Regions from separate parts of the Homo sapiens genome. Here regions 2, 3, 4, 5 and 6 are each linked to region 1. Evidence: promoter capture Hi-C in 16 types of primary human blood cells and fetal thymus (Javierre and others, 2016). All regions are on one chromosome and are shown on one strand. Each heading gives the region's core, a stretch centred on a gene start or on the middle of the fragment in contact. The rest is flanking DNA. Distances are from core to core; before and after follow the strand shown.

What was found. The method cuts DNA at HindIII sites, captures the fragments that hold promoters and counts their contacts. A CHiCAGO score of 5 or more calls a contact.
Region 2: a contact is called between the fragment with the promoter of ATMIN here and the fragment with the promoter of DYNLRB2 in region 1, in 2 of 17 cell types (monocytes and naive CD4 T cells). The highest score is 5.8, in monocytes.
Region 3: a fragment that was not itself captured here is called in contact with the fragment with the promoter of DYNLRB2 in region 1 in 1 of 17 cell types (endothelial precursors); the score reaches 5.9 in endothelial precursors.
Region 4: a contact is called between a fragment that was not itself captured here and the fragment with the promoter of DYNLRB2 in region 1, in 6 of 17 cell types (endothelial precursors, megakaryocytes, M2 macrophages and 3 more). The highest score is 12.5, in endothelial precursors.
Region 5: a contact is called between a fragment that was not itself captured here and the fragment with the promoter of DYNLRB2 in region 1, in 7 of 17 cell types (endothelial precursors, M2 macrophages, megakaryocytes and 4 more). The highest score is 16.3, in endothelial precursors.
Region 6: a contact is called between a fragment that was not itself captured here and the fragment with the promoter of DYNLRB2 in region 1, in 15 of 17 cell types (M2 macrophages, M1 macrophages, megakaryocytes and 12 more). The highest score is 14.4, in M2 macrophages.

What each region holds. Positions count from the first base shown.
Region 1 is chr16:80,539,098-80,542,876 of GRCh38, reverse strand. It overlaps DYNLRB2 (dynein light chain roadblock-type 2), which reads right to left and starts at 1,884. Exons shown (of 4, transcript NM_130897.3): 1 at 1,798-1,884. The coding sequence starts at 1,800. The region is part of intron 1 of DYNLRB2-AS1 (DYNLRB2 antisense RNA 1); the gene reads left to right. RefSeq lists an enhancer at 1,744-1,833. The HindIII fragment of the contact is 6,420 bases long and covers 618-3,779 here.
Region 2 is chr16:81,033,866-81,037,644 of GRCh38, reverse strand. It overlaps ATMIN (ATM interactor), which reads right to left and starts at 1,803. Exons shown (of 4, transcript NM_015251.3): 1 at 1,439-1,803. The coding sequence starts at 1,774. It overlaps CENPN-AS1 (CENPN antisense RNA 1), which reads left to right. Exons shown (of 4, transcript XR_007065134.1): 1 at 1-908; 2 at 2,719-2,890. RefSeq lists silencers at 1,134-1,483, 1,694-1,983. The HindIII fragment of the contact is 2,725 bases long and covers 553-3,277 here.
Region 3 is chr16:80,873,174-80,876,952 of GRCh38, reverse strand. The region is part of intron 1 of ARLNC1 (androgen receptor regulated long noncoding RNA 1); the gene reads left to right. Among named protein-coding and RNA genes, the nearest start is that of ARLNC1, 18 kb to the left of the region's middle. The HindIII fragment of the contact is 1,272 bases long and covers 1,435-2,706 here.
Region 4 is chr16:80,849,811-80,853,589 of GRCh38, reverse strand. The region is part of intron 1 of ARLNC1 (androgen receptor regulated long noncoding RNA 1); the gene reads left to right. Among named protein-coding and RNA genes, the nearest start is that of ARLNC1, 41 kb to the left of the region's middle. The HindIII fragment of the contact is 1,914 bases long and covers 860-2,773 here.
Region 5 is chr16:80,832,752-80,836,530 of GRCh38, reverse strand. All of the region lies in intron 2 of ARLNC1 (androgen receptor regulated long noncoding RNA 1), which reads left to right. Among named protein-coding and RNA genes, the nearest start is that of CDYL2, 30 kb to the right of the region's middle. The HindIII fragment of the contact is 1,000 bases long and covers 1,135-2,134 here.
Region 6 is chr16:80,805,484-80,809,262 of GRCh38, reverse strand. No RefSeq gene overlaps it. Among named protein-coding and RNA genes, the nearest start is that of CDYL2, 2.8 kb to the right of the region's middle. The HindIII fragment of the contact is 2,146 bases long and covers 709-2,854 here.

The DNA.
Region 1 (3,779 bases), core at 635-3,134:
TATTTATAGAGCTATATCATGGCCTCCCTCTGTCTAAAAGTAGTCCTTATTGAGAAATCTTATTTTCATTAATGTGACCTAATCAGTTCGGATGATTAAATTTAAAGGATAGTCTATAAAAACAAAGTATTCCAGGATTCTAGGATTTTCTTGATAACTATAGCTTGCGTCTCAGTGCAAGCTGAATGTTCAACTATGAGTGATTATTCTGGAATCTATTATTGTGTTTTAAACTCATTCGGAATCTTATGTGTAGAGTGTATTGTATGTTTTCTTCCCCTGTAGAAAACTCAAAGACAAGAACGATCTTTTCCAAACCTGCAAATTTTTCATGACTGAGCAATCACTGGATATTTTGAATTCTGCAAATTCTCTTGATGAGGGTTTGCTATATTCTTTTTTCCTCAGTATTGCACAGGTGAACATTTTGTTACTTCAAGATAGTTTTCCTTTGTACTTGGTATGGGCAGGAGCACTTATTTTCTCTATTTCAGCATCAGAGCCAAGGTTTTCTTGACTTTAGGCATTTGTGTACTAGATTCATGATTCTTGCCATTATGAATGCCATGTATACTATTTATCTAGGTGTTCTTTAAATTATCTCACTGCTAAAAGCTTAAATAAATGCATTTTAAGAGGAAATCGTATGTCACTACCACAAATGGAAACCTGACGTTATTCCTCATAAATAGAAATAACTGTAAAACAAACAAAATGAACAAAATGAAGAGAGAGCCTATCATTAAATTCTACTGCAATGAAAGCTCTGAGCCTGAGGCCTGCTCTTCGGATGAAAAAATGGAAATTTCCAAATGACAGTGGTATTAAGGACCTAATAGCAACAGAAATTTTCTCCTGTATGTAGTCTGAAGGTTGAACAAAATGGAAGAGGAATAACTTTCTCACGATGTGATTCACTCTTATTTAGCATTTCTCGGCCATCTTATGTAGCAACGAATGTTTGCATCTGACTTTGAGAAACACTACACTAAACCGTAAGCGTTGAACAGGGGATCAATAATTCACTGCATTTTGGGCAATCTTTAAGACGATGTCCACAGCTTCTTACAGCCACTGTGTCCTTATTTATCTTTCTCCCTTTACTTATCTCCCAAACTCCTTTCTTTTCTTTCCCTGGCCTTTCCATTTCTCCACCCAGTTGTTTCTCTTCTCATGATTTGTAAGTGCTCCTAGTATAATTTCTTAATCCCCATCTCCAATCCCCGTTTCATTCTTCTCTTAACGCCCTTTGCTTTCCACAGTCTCTACTTTTTTTTTTCTTACCTCTTTTTCTGGGGGGGAGGGGGGCGGGTCTCCCATCACTTCTTTCCTTTTTCTTTATTTCCCTTTCTTCTTTCTCAGTATCTTCCCTTCTCACCCTTCCATTCCCTTGCTTTCCCTGTCCCACCTCTTCCTTCTCTCTAAGGGTCTGATTTTTTTTCCTCTCCATCTCGGCCTCCCGCCCCCTCTTTGGAAACTTTCCTGGCTCCCCGGATTTCTCACTCCCCTGAGCATTCTTCATCCTCTGAATCTCTCTCTTCCCTTTCTCAACATCACCCCTCCTTATGTACCATCCCCGCGAAATCAATTCCCAAAACAGCTTCCAGTCATCTAGACATCTTCTTGCCCCTTTCCAAGGTCTCCCTCTCGCCCCTCCAGGAAGATCCTGGAGCCACCAGCCTCCGCCGCGGCCCCTGGACCGCCCGTGCCTGGGTGGGCCCCAGAAGCTGGGTGCGAAGGTCCTTGACGGTCGGCGTGCTTGGAACGGCGGGGCGTGGACGGAGACCCCAGATTTACCATCGCGGAGGCCGCGAAACTCTGGGCTCAGGCCGGCGGCACAGCCTCCCGGGATGTCAACAACGCTACCCGCCGTTGCTAGGAGACAAAAAAGGAAGTGGCCCCACGGAAGCGTCAGGGCTGCGCCTGCGCGCTCGCGAGTCGGCTTTTTCGCCCTGACCGCGCTCCTGATGCCTCCCGGCCGCCGTAGGCGAAGGTTCGCGGAAGAGGGGAGCAGGCGCTCACCTGAGGTTCGCCCAATCCTGGAGCAGTGGGTCCCGGGAGGGAAGAGGGAAGTGGGTCAGGCTCCCGGCCTGTGTTTGTCCATTCATTCATTCATTGAGGCACGAATTAATGTGATAACCACTTATTCGTTCAAAAACTGCTGATTCACCACCCACCAGGTGCCAGGGAGACGGACAAAATGCACCAAACAAAATGCACGAAACAGTACCGGAAGCAGTAATGTCCACGTGTGATACTTGCCCTGGAGCAAGTAAGGAGGGGACAGGACCATCTGACTTCGGGGTTGGGCTGCTCTAGGGGTTTGGTGATAGTCTTAGCTGCCTGTGACCGTCCATTAGTACTGCCCTGTTCAGGGCAGATACTGTTCGCTCGCCTCCCAGTAGTTTTTATATTGAAGAAAAATATATCAGAGCATCAAATAGTACAACCTTATGTACTTAAAAAAATTACTTTCTATCTGTCTACTCTAAGATCAGTAGAGTAAGCACAGTTGCACATTTTATGTTCTCACCTAGTTATAGCACCCTCTTCCTGTTCTCAACTCCATTGAAGAGTTGCTACTTGTCAGTATTTCTGTTAGTTGTCAGTATCCATTAGGATCTGTATTTTTGCCATTTTAAAAATCAACAGTTCTGAGTTACTAAAAAATTGCAAATGGTAGTTCCGGAGGTTCTATACGTTGCCATAGAAGAGCATTCCATTGGGTGTTTAAGGAACTGTTGGAGGAAACACGTTAAAGATCAGTTAGGAATGATCAGAAGTCACTTGACCTTTTGAGGGACATTGATAATATCCTTATAGCCTAGGAGGAAAAGAGCCACTATTGTACGACGAAGCACAGCAGGAAAATTTTATGGCTGGAGTCGTGTTATGACTTCCTGAGGTTAGAGGAGGACAAATATTGATTACAAAATACAAGCTGTAAGTTGGGAATGCATCTTCATAGGGATCATGCCATAACAACTTCCTGTAATACCGATTCTGTTTGTGCATCCATTTCCAGAAAGTAGTCTCACACTGAACAAGGCATACATCGTGCTAGGAATGTCAACTGGATTCTGAATGGTCCATGTTAGGGGTGCTCTGGGACAGTTTTGAACTCATTGGCAGGCTTGGACTCGATGATCCATTTCAACTCCACATCTGTCATTTTATTATATTAACTACAGAAATACTCTGAGAAACTGTAGTTCTGCTCTAATTTTTGTTGAGGTGTGGGTGATTCTGATCACTGTAGTTCTCTCCTTTTTTTCCCTCCAAGAAATCTGTATATCTCAGCCAGTTCACTATTACTAGCCAAAGAATCCCGCTTGACTCTCAACACCTGGTACTCCAACAAAGTTGCTTTGGAAAGGACTGCTATAGCTGTGGGGAAGGAGTCTGAGTCTGGTGTGTGCGTGTGCGTGTGCATTTGTGTGCTTGTGTGTGTATGCATGCATGTGTGTACAGATCTGGCTCTTACCTGATTGACTATAGCTACCATTTTGCAGTAATACAAATAATAGGTCTTTACAGAAATACTGGCTGAGTTGAATGAAGAGTGATTCTTGGGTTCTCTGGGTGTTTCTGATCAAGGAGATTCCACTTGATTGTGTAGCCGTTTGTTTTTCTTACAAAAATCAGTGACAGTGCACCATGTCTGATATGTCAATCAGCTTTAATGAAGGAACCAACTGCATATGCATGGAGTGTGAATTTCCTTGTTTCTGGAGTCAGGATGTCAAGCTCATTCAATAGCTGACAGCTGTAATTAGAGC
Region 2 (3,779 bases), core at 554-3,053, 490 kb before region 1:
CAAAAAAACACAAAAACAATAGGGAAGAAAAGGATTTAGTTAAAATTTAGTATGAAAACAAAACAACAGGTTGAAAGCCATTCCCAGAGTTACACTTGAGTGCTGAAAGAAACCCAGAGCTTTTCAGTCCAACAATTCGGCCCCACCTGCACGGTCTTCCTCAGCATACCTCAGGTACATTTCCTGACTGGCTCCCTGATCTTCAATTGAGAACGTTGTTGCATCCCGGTTTAGATGGTGGTAAGAGCAGATCACTCTTCATTGGCGACACATCTGTCCTACTAGAGACTACAACCTCAGAGTTTTCTGCTGTGAAATTCTTATCAGAAGCCTGACTATGGGCAGACAGAACATGCAATATTCTGGGTACTCTAAATTTACTCCTGATCATCAAAAGCTACATATTCGCAGAACTGCTTTCAATGACTTGCGCTTTTGAATTATGTCACTGCTGGCCTAGAGTGGTGGAAGGAAACTTGCCATTGTAATGACTGAGAGATTGTGACTTAACAGGTCCGGGGTGGGGCTGGACATCTGGATTTTTAATAAGCTTGTCACAGATGTGTCCCAAGGTTGAAAATGACTGCCCTGTTTTGCATAACGTGGAGGGTTGTTGAGACTATTGTCATGGTGTATTTACTGTGTCCCCCTCTTAAAGAAGAGCCACAGGGGCAATTTCCCTTAGGTCTCAGTCCTGAGCTGATCTTACCAACACCGTGAAACTGACTGATGGTGTTTAGAGGCAAACCTACCGCTCCTTTAAAACATTTTTTTATTCATAATCGACACACAGTAATTATTCCTACTGATGGGGTGCGGTGTGCAGCATGGATGGACATATACATTGCATAGTGATCAAGTCAGAGTGTTTAACATGTCCTCGACCTCAAACGTATTGTCTCTTGGTGGTGAGAACATTTAAAACCCTCTCTTCTAGTTATTGTGGCACATACAGTCCACTGGGCAGGACCCAAGGGCGGCATTGTGGGTGTCGTGGCAAGCACAGGGCTTTAGAACCAGAGGCCCCGGTTTAAAGCCCCGCATCATCTAGGTTGCATAATCTGTTTCTCATTAATATAATGGAGACGATGCGTCCCTCGCCAAAACGCCGTTAAGAACTCACAGGCAAAAAAGTGTAAAAAGCCTGGGCCGGCGTCCGGCACGACACTCGGGGCCAGGGAGCCAGGGAACCAGGGAACTGGCGCGTACGGCGGACCCGGGGCTCCCAGCTCCTCCTCCCCCCCAGAGGCCGCACCTGCGGCGCCTGCCGCGAGGGTTCGAGAGCCGCCTCCGGCCGGGGAGGGCAGAGGCCGGTGGGGCAGCGGCAGCGGCAGCGCGCAGGGCGCTCGTCCCCCCGAGGCCGGCTTCGCGCGCCGGCGCCGGGCGCTTTGTTGGAGCCAGGCCCGGCCCCCCGGGCCGCCGGCCGCGTCGGGCTCACCTGCAGGCGGTGGCTCTTGACTAGGTGCATGTTGAGCGCGGGGCTGTTGGGCAGGATCTTGCCGCAGCCGCGCACGGTGCACAGGATGTTGGTCCGCACGGCCCGGGACAGCTCGCTCACCGACGGCTGGATCAGCTCCCCCGCCGGCGGCGCGGGGACAGCGGGCTGCTGCGTCGCCCCCGCGGGCCGCGGCCGGCTGCCCCTCAGTCGGGGTCCCGGGGGCACCCACGGGCCCGAGGCGGCGGCGGCGGCTCCTGTCGTGGCCGCCGGGACGGCCCGGGCACCCGCCGCCAGAGCCGCGGACCCCGCCGCCGCCGCCGCCTCCGAGGCCGCCATGGCTCCCGCACGGCCGCCCGGCCCAGTTCGTAGGCCCCGCCCCCGCCGCAGCCACTTCCGGCAGGGGGCGAGGCCGCCAGGCTTGTTAGCATCCGGCGGGCCCAGGCGGCCGCGGCGCCCCCTGCCGGCCGCGGAGGGCGCGCCTTGGAGGGAGAGGACTTTAGGTGACGCCGCCAGGAGGCGAAATTTCACCTGCCAGCAGGTAAAAGGTATTGCCCCGCCTCTCTAATCGATCCATTCTTCCTAGGAAAGTGACTTCAGGCAGTAGTCACATAAAAGAAAAAGCAATACGTTGAGCAATGCGTTTACTTCCCAAAGATTAGAAACAACCCAAATGTCTAGTGGCAGGTGAGGCAGAAGTACACTGATTTCCGCCGTTGTTTATTACCTAGGCCTTACTGGGTACCAGGTGGGTCTGGTGGATGCACTTTTCATGCTGTGTCTCATTTTGTCTTCAAAACGACTGTAGCGGGTATGTACTGTAACTTGCCCCACCTTGTGCAGAGAAGGACATTTAGGCTTATATAAATTAAGTAACTTGACCTAGACCACACTATACAAATGAAAAGATTGTTATTATTGATAGGATTAATCATTTTAAGAAGGCTGGATTTGCTTGCTTCTATTTTAGCTGCTGAAATTAGGATTACTGTTTGGGAGACACTGCAGTTCAGTATACGATTACAAAACTTAATACTTAGACTGGGTAGTTCATGTAAATGGACATAGGAGGCTGGGGTAGACAAAAGGGAGGGGTGAGGACTGCAGTGAAATTGGAAACACATCCTTTATTAAAAGGGGGCAGCTGCTACTCATCTTTGGTATGGCTAGAGTTTTATGTGAAAATTTCCACCTTTTACATACTAGCAGCTATATTCGTTTTCTCTTGCTATTAATAAATTACCACAAACTTACTGCCTTAACACAAATTTATTATCTTCCAGCTCTGGAGGTCAAAAGAAATGAGACTGCTGGGCTAAGATCAAGGTGTCAGCAGGGCTGTATTCCTTCCCAAGGCTCCAGGGGAGAATCTGTTCACTTGCCTTTCCCAGCTTCTAGAGGTTGCCTACATTCCTTGGCTTGCGGACCCTTCCTCCATCTCCAGAATCAGTAACGGTGAGTTGAGTCTTCGTCACATCACATCACTCTGATTTCTTCAGTAGTGATCCCTCTGATTCTTCTATTCTTGAGGCCCCCTGTGATGACATTGGGCCCATTCAAATCATCCAGGATAATTTCTCCAACTGCCAAGTCCCTTTGCCTTGCAAGATAACTGTGATAATGTGAAGTATATATTTGGTCTTTGTCCTGGCATGCAATTCCTAAAATCCTTGGAATCAGCAAATTGGTGTTTTTTTGTATGCTAATTAGTTGACTGATGACTCACAGTCCCTAGGTAGCTTTAGGATGGGACTGGTCACTGGAAAGACCAAGGTAGGATTAGAGGCTTGAGACTTTCAGCCCTCCCCCTCAACCTCTGGGGAGGAGACAGGGGCTGAAGCTTAAGCTGATCAATCATTCCTAGGTAATGAAGCCTCCATAAAATCCCAAAAGAAATGGGTTTGGAGAACTTCCAGATAGCTGAATGCATGGAGTTTCCTGGAGGGAGGCGCACTCAAAGAGGGCATGCGTGGAAGCTCTTGCCCTATGCATCTTTTCATCTGAATCCTTTGTAACATCCCTTGTAAGAAGTCAGTCTATGTGTCTTCCTGAGTTCTGTGAGCTGCCCTAGCAAATTAATTGAACATGAAGAGAGGGTTGTGGGAAATGCAATTTATAGCTGGTTAGTCAGAAGCGCAGGTGAAACAACCTGGGGCTGGCAACTGGCCTCAGAAGTGGGTGGCAGTTTTGTGGGACTGAGCCCTTAACCTATGGGGTCTGATGATATCGCCAGGTAGTTAGTGTTGGAATTGAACTGGAGCATACCCAGCTGGTATCTGCTGTAGAACTGATTGCTTATGTCAACCAAGAAGAGGTGAAAGGGCCAGGCATGGTGGCTCACGCC
Region 3 (3,779 bases), core at 821-3,320, 330 kb before region 1:
GTTCCACCAACTGCCTTGATCTCTTCTCATATAGTAGCACGCTGTCTGTCCTATCTTGAGATAGTGGTTAGGGCTGGTTTGCTTCCATTAGTGTTATTCTTTGATAGTCGTATTTATTTTTCCAGTTTCATTTTAAAATACAAGTTGTAGAGGAGTTCAGATCATAGACTCTGGAGCCGGATTTACTGATTTTAAATCCTCAGTTGATGCCTTCCAGCCCTGAAACACCTGGGCAGATTGCTTGACCTTTGTATATGCCTCAGTGTCCTCATCTGTACAAAGAAAGTATCTTTAGGGGGTTGTAGTGAGAATCAATAGTTAAAATACGTACAGCTCATATATTAATAATTGGCACAGAGTAAGCTTTAAGCATGCTAGTTATTCTCACAATTTTGTGAAGTTCAAAACTCATCCTATTGGGATCTTGATTTCAATCACATTAAACCAAACCTATGGATTGATTGGGGAAGATTGATAACTCCCTCTTCAGGAGCATAGTTTGATTTATTCAACTTCTATCGCACATTTTCTCAATGAGCATTTGTAGTTTTACCCACATGAGGTTGCAGTCTTAATTAACTAGAGCAATTAAGACCTGAGTGGGGAGAAAGATTCTGATCACTCCAAATCCATCTGGATGCAACCGTTGAACTGGATGCTCCCACTCCTGTCTCAAACGGGATGAGACTCTTACTGGGGGCAGTGAATAAAGAAGATAGAGGCAGTATAAACCTTTCCTCTCTCTGGTGACCCTACAGCAAGACCCTCCCTGATTTGGATGTTCTCATTGGCACAAGATGCGGCCGGCAGCAGTGGTGATTTATACTAGGCTTGACCTCTGGGTACCACCACCAGGCTTGTTGCAGAGGAAGGCAAGGTTGAGCACTCCAGCCTTCCCTCCTAAATCAGGCTCCAGACCTTGTTTGAGCTGCATCCCTACTCCAGAAAGAAGTAGGAGCCCTCAACTCACCAGCCCTTGCCCAGCTCATTCCATCAGAAACAGGGATTAAATTGCACAGACTTTATTCCTGGCATGTGCATACGTGGAGCACTTATTGACTGATATCCTTTCTTTCACTCAGCTAGTCAACGTTTCCCATGTTAGGAGCTATAACATTCTTCCAGCTCCCACTTGCAGACCAGCACGACGTGGTTACTTTTGCTTTCTTATCAAGCACACGCTGTTCATGAATACATTTGGAACTTGTTATCCTTTCTTTATCTCTCAAGGCTAGATATCTGTAAACAGAACATGTTTAATAAATATTTGTAGTTTTTTTATATGTCACACATAGTTTTCATTTAGATATTTTATAGATACTGCAATTCCTTTGTTATATTTATGAATTGAATTACTTTTCTAAATGTAAAATTTGTTATACTAATATTAAAGGAATGTTACTGATTTTTTGAATGTGTATGTTTTAGCAAGCTTTTATTTTTCTTTCATAACTTCTATTCAATTAATAAAGTTTTCCTTATTATTTTCCTTCTCCCCCACTGATTTAGAAAGTATGTATTCTTTTTCTATTCTTTTAGTCTTCCTTAAATTTTTAATGCACATATTTGACTGAAGACTTCAAATTAATACCTTTATTCTCTTTCCAACTATATGATGTCCTTAAAATGGTTTAACTCTGGTCTCCCCAACATCGTGGATGTTTTTGTTATCTAGTGATTACATCTTGTTATTGTTTATTTTTTCATACCAGCAAATTCAGCTTTAATCTCTTTTTTTTCAGTCTTTTATTTTAAAATTGTAGACTCACAGGAAGTTGTAAAGATAGTACAGAGAGATTCCTGTACCCCCCACCCAGTTTCATCATCCATGACCCCTGGCAACTTATCTATTCTCCATTTCAATCACTGGGTCATTTCATGAATGTCACACAAATGGGATCATGCAGTATGTGGCCATCTGAGATTGACTCTCTTCCCACAGCATAATGCCCTTGACATCCATCCAAGTTGTTGAGTATATCAATAGTTTGTTCCTTTTTATTACTAACTAGTATACCACCATTTTGTATTTATTCCCTCAACAGCTGTTATTAACATTATCATTTTTATTGATATGTTTACCAGCTTGTCTACTTACTATTATTCCTTGTATGTGCTTCCTTCTGAATTTGATTTCCTAAAAGTACTGTAGCCTTCAGTAATTCTTTCCATGAGTATTTGCTCGTGCTATTTTTTTTTCAGTCTTTATTTTTCCCAAATTATCCTTCCCCTCTCTTAATTTGAATGAATAGAAGGTTCTAGATTTATGGGTTTTTTTTTTTTTAATCTTTTTCTTTTTTGAGACAGACTCTCACTCTCGGGCTGGAGTGCAGCGGCATGATCTCGGCTCACTGCAACCTCTGCCTCCCGGGTTCATGTAATTCTCATGCCTCAGCCTCCCAAGTAGCTGGGATTACAGGCACACGCCACCATGCCTGGCTGATTTAAGATTATTTTTTTCACAAAACTTTGAAGACATATCTTCTTATCTTCTGGCTTCTGTTGTTGTTCATTTACAGGTAATCTTGTTGGCCCTCGTCTTCTGTACCCTCTCTCTGCTGCTGCCATGACTTTGAAGATGATCTTGCTGCCTTTTGCCTTCTATAGTTTCACCACAATGTATTTAATGTATATTTGTTTTTGTTTATTCTATTCTTGTCTCAGACCAAATATTCAAAATGAAGATTCATGACTTTCTTTAAAGCTTAGAAAATGTTTAGCCAACATGTCTTTAATATTTTCTTCTTCCCTTTATTATTTTTCTGAAGTAAGGATTATTGAAGGCCAGTTTACATGCAGTAAAATTCAGCTCATTTACACATATAGGTAAGTGATTTTTGACATTTATAGTATTGTAAACACCACTATAACCATAATACAGAATATTTTCATCACCCCAAAAAGTTCTGTCACCTCCTTTATAGTCAATTCCCTATCTCTGCCCCAACCCCTGACAACTTCATCTGGTTGATGACTCTATAGTTTTGCATTTTCTAGATAATCATGTAAATGGAATTGGAGTATGAAATGTTTGTGCGTGGCCTTTTTTTTTTCACTCAGCACAATACACTTGGTTTATTAATACTGTTGCGTGTACTTAGTAATTCCTTCCTTTTTATTTCCATGTAGTATTTCATTATAAGGCTATACCATAATTTGTGTTCACCAGTTGATTAGTATTTGGGCTTTTTCCTGGTTTGAGTGATTATGAATAGGCTGCTATAAATATTCATGTTCAGGTCTTTCAGCGGACATATGTTTTATTTCTTTTGAGTAAATATCTAAGATTGGGATTATTGGTTCGTATGGTAATTGCATGAGTAGCTTTAGAAGAAACTGTTTTCCAAAGTGGCTGTAGCACTTTGCATTTCCACGAGCTCTGCATAGAATTCCATTTGCTCCATGCCCTTACCATCACTTAGTATTGATAGATTTTTTTTTATTGTCATTCTGATAGGAGTGTAGTGGCATCTCATTGTGGCCTTAATTTCCCTAGTCACCAATTATGTTGAGCTTCTTTTTCATGTGCCTATTTTTCCATCTACAGATGTCCCCAATTTACAATTGTTTCACTACAATTTTTCAACTTGGTGCAAAAGTGATAGGAATTCAGTAGAAACTATACTTTGAGTACCCATATACCCATTCTATTTTTTATTTTCAACCATTTATTGGATTCTGGTAAGGTATTCAATAAATTACATGAGATAGTCAACACTTTATTATAAAATAGGCTTTGTGTTAGATTATTTTGCCAAGCTGTAGGCTAATGTAAGTTT
Region 4 (3,779 bases), core at 567-3,066, 310 kb before region 1:
CAATGTCATGGGGATGGGAACAATATTTACAGAACGCATGTTCCTCTAGACAGCCTGCCGGTGAGTGCCCTTACCCCCATTTTCAGAGAATAGAACTTGTCCCTGGTCTCAGGGCAGAGACTGGGCATAGTCCCCCATCTGTAGGAAGCAGTAAACACTCTTCCTTACCATACTTGCATACAGAGGAGGTAATATTTATGCTCCTCCTTTAAGTATCAGAGTTAATGAGGGACGGGTGACCAGAGAGGGACATTCCGGCAGAGAGGCATATGGTCAGGGTCCTGGTGGGAAAGAGATGGCACATGTGATCTGGATAATTTGAGGAGAGATCAATAAAGTGACTACCTATAGAGGTATGGGAAGAGTTTAAGGGAACCAAAGTGGGGATGGTGGCAACGTGGAGCATTACCATCCCAGGCCTGAATGGGTGAGGTGAGGAAGCCATTGTAGGAACACAGAGAGGGTGGCTGTATATACAGGGCTGCCTTCCACAGGGGGACAGCCCAAATGACAACTGCCCGGATTCATTCTCCTCCTACCCTCTGATTTCTGCTGGTCACTTTCATTGGCTGTACCCAACAAGAAGCAAGAGGGCAAGAGAGCCCACTGATGTAATCCATACTGGTCAGCCTCATGGGACAGGGAAAGGCACAGAAGCTGGACCCACAGGGATGAATGGGAGGTAATCAGCACAGATAAGGAAGTATAAAGATAACGCATATTGTAGGACTGGTAAAGGTCCCATTGAGTCATTACACCATTGTAACGCGGTCTATGCTGATTATCATTCTTCTCCAAATTCTTGCCCTGAGACCATGTTTTTTTTTCTGGTAAATTTGAGAAGTGTCTTCCAGAAGCTTTTCTCAGTGGACTCCAAATCCTTTCATTCTTTTCGCAAGGCATTCCAGCCTCTCACTTTCCTGGTTCTTCGTAAGGCCCATGGTTGCTCTCAGTGCAGATCTCAGATAAGCCAGGCCCTCTAAGTCAGGTCAGGAAGCCCAAGGCCATCTTTGGGGGAACCAGTGCTCATCTTATTCAAGTAAATGAGCCCCCCAGTGCTGAGGAGGGTAGAAAACAATTCCCCTGGCAGGGAAAGTTCAGGAAGGAGGGTTTGTAAGTCTATGGGGATCCATTTATGTCTGCCACCAGGGGGCAGGTGGACCCATTTTTAGGACTACTCTAGAAAAGTGTTTTGCTAGAGTCTTCCAAGAACAGAGGCAGAGAAAAATGGGGACTTGGAAAAGAAACAGGGTTTTTGTTTTGTTTTTCTCTTGCTTCTAAAGTTGTTCTCGGATCAAGGAAAGTGTACAGAAACCAAAAAACTCTCCTGCTAGAAATAAACAGCTAGGCCACTGAAGTGTTCTTCATTGACGTTGGTAAATTTCTTCAAGTCCCCATTGGATCTCTCCTTCATCTTTGCAGACTAAGAAGTGAGAGTTTGTACCGGAGATAGCTTGACCTAGGATCACAGGCCATATGAACAAGGCTGTCGGAGACCAAAGCGTCGAACAGATACTCGTTTATTGGTTTATAATAAGAAACATGTTGGGGAGATAAGGCAGCTGCCAAGGCTTGATTAGGACATTCTTTTGTTCAAAAAAACTTCATGGGAAACCAAAGCATAATCAGAAGATGACTGGGAATGAGAATAAAGTGAAGCTGGTTGTATGACTGGAAGTTTACTGCTTAGGTCTGCTGTGTCTAGCCTCAAAGCAGAGATTTTTGTGATAGTTGAAAGGGCAGCCTGCTCCTTAGATGACACTGAGATGGAAAGCTCCAATACTGCCCCGTGACTCTCTTCTCTCTGTTGCTGAGCACTCGTGTTTAGTGTTAAGTATTCTCTCTCTTTCATCTATCTAATCTAATCTAATCTTTGTGTCTATCATCTATGCACTATCTACCAACGATATATCTATCATCAATTGATCTATCATCTATTGATTATCAATCATCTATCAACCATCTATCTACCAACAATCTGTCATAATTGATTTATCATCTTTCAATCATCCATCCATCCTGCCAACAAGTCGGGCATATTTTAATGTTAGGGCCTGTGAGTCATTTTGGGTCTTTAAGATGAATTCATAGATCGTTGCTCCAGTTCCTGTATCTTGATTTACAGTTTGACTCTCAGAGGAGGACCTTCACTTCTTCTGGGTAGTTGTACCTTTGGATAACTGAGAGGCCAGAACACTCAGATTGAGGATGCGCTGAACATGTATGATAGAATAGGTACAAACTGAACACTCAGTTTAGACCACAGGGTGAAGGTATGAGAATCTAACACCTGCTGGTGAGGTCTGAGGATAGGAAGACACCACATCCCTCAAGGATTAGGTAAGATACTATTTAAAAGAATGGACTTCAGTGAGTTTTTTTATTTATCTGAGCTGTCTCAAAATTTAAGCCTTTGTCATCTCATTCTGAGATTTATGCATACAATGATGACTGTTGGGTTGTCCAGAATAATCACTTTCAAAGTGTCTTGAGAAATGCTAGAGTTAAATAAAGATATGCTGTAGATCAGGGTTGACAAACAATAGCCCAAGGCCTGAATCCAGCCTGCTGCCAGCTTTTGTAGATAAAGTTTTATTGGAACACAACTACACCCATCTATTCACATATTGCCTATGGCTGCTTTCTCACCACAACAGCAGAGTTGAGAGGTTGTCACAATGAATGAGTGGCCCATAAAGGCTAGACTAGGGGCTAGCTGGCCCTTTACAGAAAACAATTGCTGAACCCTGCTGTGGAGGAAAGAATACAAGCTTTTAAGCTAGATATTTTCTAGCTGCCTGACATGAGGCAAGTTTTTGCCTCTGTATGTCTCCATTTTACCATCTGTAAATGAGAATAATTATATCTACTTTTAAGTTAGGTTTAGATGAAATAACTTATTTAAAACATCTACCATATAAGGCTCTCAGGAAATTATTATTAATAAATGGGAAAACTTTACCCAAACCTCTGTGGCAGAGTTAACATGAAGACACGTACATTTGAAACAATAACCATGGCAGTAAGTTTGACTGGGAGCAACTGTTCAACACAACTCTGTAGGAATACACCGATTTTTTATAACTGTGCTGCCTAATATGGTAGCCACATGTGGTTTCTGAGCACTTGAAATGTAGGTAGTCCAAATTGAGATATGCTAGAAACATAAAATACACATCAGACTTCAAAGGCTTAGTATGAAAAAAATGTATATGAAAAAATTTCATATCGATGATCTTGAATATAGAGGCTGGAAAAAATTATTTCATATTGATTATATACTAAAAGATAACATTTCAGATACACTGGGTTGAGTAAACTATATTATTAAGTTTAATTTCTCCTGTTTCTTTTTACTTCTTTTTTTATCTTGGCTACTGAAATTTAAAAATCACATTTGTGGTATGTATTATATTTCTATTAGGACTGTTTTAGAAGAAAGGAATGTTAGTTACACAACCACTAAGAAGTTAGTTTTGGGAAATCTTTGCCGCCTAATAAACAAGTATAGCTGGAAAATCACGGTTGCAAATGTAAACGGAGACATTTTATTTAGAAGTTGAAGGAATGATTTCTCATAAAAGGATGTAACTTCTTTGGAAACAGATGTTGGTTGTGCCATCTTCATGTTTCCCAGGGAAGAGTCAGGCATGTATTAGGTGCTCAGTGACTGTTGAATTGAATTGACAGAGATAAGGGAAAGGCAGATTCATCAGAAGAGGAAATGAGGCCAGAAGAAAAGTCAGTGAGCCTCACTCTGTCTTGCTAAAAGAAAGAAC
Region 5 (3,779 bases), core at 385-2,884, 290 kb before region 1:
TCTTCAATGATAACAATAGACACTGAGGACTCCTAGAGGGAGAAAGAAGGAGGGGGCAAGGGTTGAAAAATGAACTGTTGTGTACTCTGCTCACTACCCCGGTGACAGGATGTTTCTTAACCCAAACGTCAGCATCATGCAACATACTCACATAACAAACCCGCACGTGTACCCCCGAATCTAAAATAAAAGCAGAAATTATATGAAAAAACTGGGGTGGGAGTTGGAAGGAACTTTAGATATGTAATAAATTTGTTTGAAAACTGTTAATTTCTCATGCTTTCATTAAAAAATAATTTTCCTCAAGAAACCCCAAATTCTCCACCTCAGGAATGAAAAGTGCATTTGAATTTCAAGAAGGTATGGGCATGAGAACCTTGCAGTTTTCTAATTTGTGGAGACAAAATAATTTTTATAACACCAACCAGAGGTTTCCTCTACAAACCCCTTGTAATTCCTTTCTGAGCTCTCTTCCTTCTAGAATCTTGGGGCATCTGAAAAACTCAAAGCTATGTAAACACAACATATTGGTTGTTGGAGACAGGATAGCTTCTTGTCTTCTTTCCCTTGTGATATGGTTTGGCTGTGTCCCCATCCAACTCTCAACTTGAATTGCATCTTCCAGAATTCCCACGTGTTGTAGGAGGGACTCAGGGGGAGGTAATTGAATCATGGGGGCTGGTCTTTCCCCTACTATTCTCCTTATAATTAATAAGCCTCACAAGATCTGATGGGTTTATCAGGGGTTTCCGCTTTTGCTTCTTCCTCATTTTCTCTTGCTGCTGCCATTTTCGCCTCCCGCCATGATTCTGAGGCCTCCCCAGCTATGTGGAACTGTAAGTCCAGTTAAACCTCGTTTTCTTCCCAGTCTCAGGTATGTCTTTATCAGCAGCATGAAACGGACTAATACACCTTGTTTTCTCACTGTGGGGTTGTAAACATTTGTAAATGTGGCCACCTTAGAACAGACGTTGAGTGGAAATAAGAATTGTAGGGTAGCACTGAAGCCAGTTGCCTTGTGTAGGACCATGTTCTCTGTTTTCATGCCTTTTCTTGTCCTCCTCTTAAAAGATGTCTCCTTCTAGTATTCTACCAGACTACCTTAGTCTTCGGATTTTCCTTTCTATCCAAGCTTATTTTTATAAAGGTTGGGATCAATTTATTGATGTGATTGAGATGGACCCTCCTTCTAGCGTCAAGGCATTCTAATGGAATATTAAAATTATAAAGATGACTCCCCCAGACCCAGAAAAAACAAATCCTTGGCCTTGAACAGTTCTGTTAGAACCAATTCTGTAGGGAAGTTTGTGAAAGTAACTTGCAAAGCTACTCAATATGGATATTAAACAGCCTAGTTTTTCCTAATTGTGCCTCATTTCAACTGTGTCCTCTGGGTACTACTGGCTTCCCAGTGGTTGGGTTGAGTATAAGCCCCCAAATATGAGTAAAAGAAGAAAAAGTTAATTCAATCACCAAGTCTTGCTCGCATATTAAAAATTGGATAGATGAATGTTCAATCATATGTTTTGGCTTTGGCCAGCCAGACGAGGTCAATTTTTAGATTTGAACTGCTTAGAATTCTTCAGGCAAGTCTTGATGGAGCACTTCTTGGACAGTTAGAACTTTACCAGGTTCACAGGAGAGCTCAGATGAAGCGAACACCTCATCCACACTGGTTTCCTTTGGAGACCTTTACTGTTGAGAGGTGGTTTTCATAGCCGCAAAATGACAAGTGCAAGTTGAGTAGATCAGTGTTTATCAACCAGGTGCCACATTGTGCCCCAGGAGACATTTGACAATGATGGGGTGTTACTGGCATCTAGTAGACAGAGGTCAGGGATGCTGCTTAACATCTTACAATGCACAGGACAGTTGCCACAGCAAAGCATTACCCAGACCCAAATGCCAATAGTGCCAAGGTTGAGAAGCCCTGCAGTAGAGAATGCTGAATGTCACAACCAGGGAAGCAAAATCTGTCAGTGGTGAAAGGGATGTGTATGGCACTTAGAGTAGAATCACAGCCAGAGTCAGGACACAGGTAGATTTTGGAGAACTGGAAGTGAGGACCAAAACCAGGGGAAAAGTGAGAGAAGCCAAGACCGTGGCTATGATCCAGGTTGTAATACCTGAAGCTTCCTTGGCTTGTATGGTGGGGTACTGGACTTGCCTAATTTCTAGGCATGGAGTTGGGGCTTGTAACAATGGTGGGAGATGGGCAGTGCTTTGGGAATGTAGCTGACCACTGCATGGGTGCTAACTAGCCCAGGGATCTTAAAGAATTTGTGTAGGCCATGAGGATCCACTCCAGCCACTGAATAGTCATAGAATTGAATCTAGGACATCACCGTATGCTACTACCATGCAGTTTTATCCCTTCTAAGAATCCAAATGCCCTAGTTTAATTTCTAAATTTTTGTTTTGTTTATTTTCACTAAAGCAACATGTTAGTGGACTGCGGAGGGAAGTGAATTCATGGCTGGTCCTCATCTTGATATCTTTTAATAGGATCATGAGGCAGTGTGGTAGGAAGAAAACGTTGTATTTAGTTAAAAAAAAAAAAACAAAGAGAATCTGCCTTTTAAGAGAGGAAGAGCATGGCTATCAGAAGTGAATGGCTCTTTGATGGAGTAAAATACTTTGATGAGACTTTGTGGTTGATGAAGATGTCTCTGTCTTGCTTTTTTGACTACTTCTAGGCAAAACCTAGATTTGTAAGGGTAAGTGAGAGAGCTCAACTGCTTCAGCTTAGAAAATAAGGATTTTGACTGTTTGTGGGCAGCCCAAGAATGAGGTAACTGAATGTGGGAAGCCCAAGAATGAGGGGCCCAGTGTGTGAGAATTGGATCCCAGAAATATGGCCATAGGCAGCCTCTGGGGAGAGACCAAGGCCATGAGAAGCTCCCCATGAAGGAGACATTATGGGACGTGTGTGAAAATGACACAGTTTTAAATTACGTGCGTTCTGGCTGTGAAGGAATGGTTGTAAAGAAACCACTTATATTATCCCTAAAAGCCTCAGTAAACGTTTGCCACACGATGTAACAGCTTTGGGATAGTTGCTGGGGAAGAGGGAAGGAGGCTGAGTGGGGTTCAGAAGCAGCAGGGAAGAGAGGTGACCCACAGGAGGGTAAGCCCTACTTCATCCACTCCTCTTTCCCATTCTCACTCTCTGAGGCACTGGAAAGGTCACAGGACCTCTCCTAGTACATGAGATGGGAGCTCGACACATTTTATTTGGAGAATAAAAGAAAATATGCCGTCATCAAACTAGAGCGTGTTGGGGGGCATCTGGTTTACAGAACTAAGTCAAGGAGAAGAACTCTCAAGCAATGGTGACATCTGCCAGCTCTGCAAAGTGGGCCCTGCCTTGTCACACAAGTCTCCTTGGGCAAATGTTTTCTATGTAGATTTTAGACACTTTCCTGTGACTTTCTCAAGGTCTTTTGGTGACACATGCAGCTTGAAGCTTTTGCAAGGGGCTGGAGTCTAATCTCTTCTTGCCCAGCTTGGCTGCAGGAGAAGAAGGGAGATATGTTAGGACTTGGCTTTGACTGAGGTGGTGTAGCCTGGGGTTGCAAGGGCTGTTGCCAAGGCTTTCTGGTGGCATCACATGCTTCAGGAGTTGGATGAATTTTCTGTCATCTTTTGGACTCTGTCGCCTCAAGATCGCTTGTTTTGTTGCATTGCAAAGATCATGTTAGCTGTGTCTCCTTGCCGTTCTGAGAGTGCCTGGCTGCCAAACACAGTCCAAGAACTGTTGAAGAGGCCTCTTGCTAAAG
Region 6 (3,779 bases), core at 532-3,031, 270 kb before region 1:
TAGATACTAAATAAGTATGACTTTAATAATAATAAACATTATTATGGAAGTAAAATATACCAAATGAATGCTGAAAATAAAGCCTAATTAGTAACAAGAATTTCTGCATAGCTTGAAAACAATACTCAGTTTGAAGGTTTTATTTGACTTACTGCCTTTCTATAGGAATCTTTGACATTCAAGGATATTAGTGACTCATATTAAGTTTGAAATGGGTAATAGTTGTCATTACAACAGGGACTATTACTCAGCCCTTATTATAGATGCTTTGCATGGATTAGCTTATTTAATTCTCAAAACAACTCTATGGGGTATCTATCACCTCAATTTATAGATAGGGTGTGGTGGTTTTAAACCATGTCCATAAATTCTTTGATAGTCCTCCCTTTAAAAGGTGGATTCTAATTTGCTTCCTTTTGAGTATGAGCTTGGCTTAGTGGTTCAGTTCTAAAGAATAGAATAAGTGACTATGTTTGGTGTCTAAGATGAGATATTCAAAGGCATTGTGACTTCCTCCTTGCTCTCTCTCTCGGATCACCCAATGTGGGTCTTGGTTTTTCCATCTTCAAAGTGAGGTGTGTGGATCAGATAACATCTCCAGTTATCCAACCTGACATGTCGTAAATCATCTGTGCATCAAATAGTCTTCTTAGCATGGACTATAACATCAGATTCGTTAGCTGCTCTGTGCTAGAAAGAGTTGAAGCTTTGACAGTTTTGCTTCATTTTGTTGGATTTGGGGGGCCAAGATCAGAATGACATGAGAACACTCAAGCAACTTTATGGAGAGACCCATGTGGCTAGGAGCTTAGGCCTCCTGCCAACAGCCATATGAGGGTGCCATCTTGGAGGTGGATTCTCCAGCCCAGCCAACCCTTCAGGTCAATGCAGTCCTAGCAAGCATTTTGACTGCAATCTCACAAGAGATCCTGAGCCAGAACCACCCCCAGTTAAGTTGCTGTCAAATCCACAACCCACACAAACTGTGAAATTAGAAAAACCTTTTGTTTAAAACCATTAAGTTTTGGGGATAATTCATCATGCAGTAATAAATAACACATACATTTGGAAATGGAAGGGTAGAGAGGTTAAACAAAGAGGCTGACACCAGATATCTAGTAGTGATGATGCAAGAATTGGAACCCAGGCCATCTGCCTCTGGAGCCCACATGTTCAGCCACCACAGGATACAGGAGGTCAAGATTATGTCTCAAGTAATACCGGAAGGAGAATATTGCCACATTTCAATGCCACTGTTAAGGCAGTGGATACGATCTTTCCTTGGACATTACACTTGCTGGTCTTGCTCTATTATATTAAAAAGGCCGTGTTCCAGGCAGCTACTGCCCTTGCTTCTAAGTTCCCTTTCTGTCTCAGATTTGTTTTGGCGTAAACACCTACCGTTTCAGTATTCCTTCCACCATTCCTTTAGGCTTCTGCTCAGACCCGATTCCCATCATGTAATTCTGGTAAAACTGCCAATTGTCATATTGTTCCCATAGATAGGAGTATGACTTAAGCCTGGCCAATCATAGTGTCCTATCAGTTATTGACTATGGTGATTGGACCAGTAAGACAGCATATGAGCTACATTGGCCCAATAGAGTCCTTCCCTGGGATTTAGAAATACTGTATAAGGCATAAGCCCAGGTGAGTGGCCAGGTGCCATATTCTCAGCTGCATGGAAGAAGCCTGTCTTCAGCAGGAAAGATACCAGCATGCAGAAAGAAGGAGAGAGTAAGAGAGGCTATTTTGTATCCTTTCATACCTTGAATCCGGCCAATCCTGAGAGCAATTCCATCCTTTTCTAGTCTATATGAGTCAGGAAATACTCTGTTGTTTTAAGTTAGAGCTTTCTATCAGTTCATCTTGAGTTACGACCAATATGAATAGTCTACCACAGTTTGTGGAAGATGGCAGCTATCTTCCATTCTCCATGAGCAACACTAGTTCTCTATCATCTGGAGAACCTAGAGCCTCACTGTTAATTGGTTGGGCTGAACTTCCTACAGTGGGTGAAGACCCTTCCCCCCTTCATCCCTCAGGAAGCACCTGCCTTTTCTGGAAGCTAGCCATGGTCTGGGGGTAAGCTCAAAATAAAATTGTGTTATGACGGATGGGTAGCTCAGTCACTCAGTTTAAAACCTTAGTCATCTCTGTATCCTTTCCTTAGTCGCGGCCCCTCCCCAAGTCCTCAATGCACACACATCCTGTTAGTCATCAAGTCCTGTTGATCTGAATCGAATGCTTCATGGAAGTAGGTGGAGTAACCATAATGAAAGTTAGCCTGGTTCTTCCTTCTGAACATCTCGCAAATCCCATTTTTCTTCTTCATTTCCACTGCTAACACCAGGGACCATTGCAATTGGTCTCCCTGCCCCTAACCTCAAACCCTGCAGTTGATTTCCCATATTTCTTCTAGAATTTGTTTTCTACAGTGCACTTTTGATAGTCACATGCTTTTGATTGATTCAAAAGTCTTCATCAGTTTCTCCACTGTTGACCTACTAAATAGCAAACTTCTTAGCTTGGCTTTCAAGACTATCTCCGAACTGACCCACATTCACCATCCAGGGTCCTGTGACCTCCATAAACCAGTCCTCCAATCTTCTCATACCCTTCCCATAGCAGAATTGCTTACCATCTACTCTGACTTCTTCTCCTCACGGAAAACACTGTCCTTCCTTTTCTATGAGTCTTCAAGATCCATTTCAGTCCTAAAACATTTCCTGAGCATGGTCATCCACACTAAGTATCCTCTTCTGTGAACTCTGTAAACAACTGTTGTCTAGACTAGGGTTTTTCAAACTGCACTCACATTCTCAGGGAGTACTTGGCCAGTACAAGTCAAGCTTTTGGTGTTTTTGTAAAACTACTGATTATATATTCAAATTTGGCTTAGTATATTATTTCCAAGCCCAGTTTCCTTCTTGTCTTCTTCCAAATTACATCCTCATGCTATGGTGGTGCATTTATTCGTGAGTACAAATTAAGACTCATTAAAATTTGTTTAGCTACCTACAGATAGAGAACTGCTTATTATTACTGTTATTATTTAAAACCATGACCACCGGGAAAATATCAATATGAAGAGAGAAGTTCTATAACAATTTCAACAGTTTCTAAGCCAAATATGCTTTCTGATTTATTAATTCCTTATCCTCACCATTTTTTCCTTATCTTCATGCGGGATTTTAACTAGAAATTGGTATAAAATTTGTTATATTGGCATAGTTCGAAAAACAATCACTGTGTACCTACTCTCTCTCAGGAACAGTGGAAGATGCTTGCGATACAAAGATAAACAAGCCCCTATACGAAGAACAAGAATGTTCCAGATGGATTCAATGTGGAAGGACATTCTAGGCAGGGGGAACAGCAAATGCAAATCCATGTGTCCTGGAATGAGCCAGACATGCTTCAGGTTCCATGGAGTTTTTTTTTTTTTTTTTTTTTTTTGGATTAAAAAATTTGGTGACTTTTCAAAGTTTGACAACCTCAGGATTAAACAATTTATCGAGCCCCTCTGCCATCTCACTCTCCATGAGGGCAGTCCAGGTTGAGACTCAGATACAAATCACCTTTATTGAGTTCTGCTGGGATGGACAGGTCACTTCATGTATACGTAGATCCTCTCCTTAATTCTATTTAAATCACTTAGGTGACTATCACCATCTCCCATCAGGGTTCGGTGACCTGCCCACAGCCTCCCAAGTAGAAAATGATCCAGGGAGCATGTGAGTTAATGATACATCACATCTGGAGCCAGGCAGGCATTT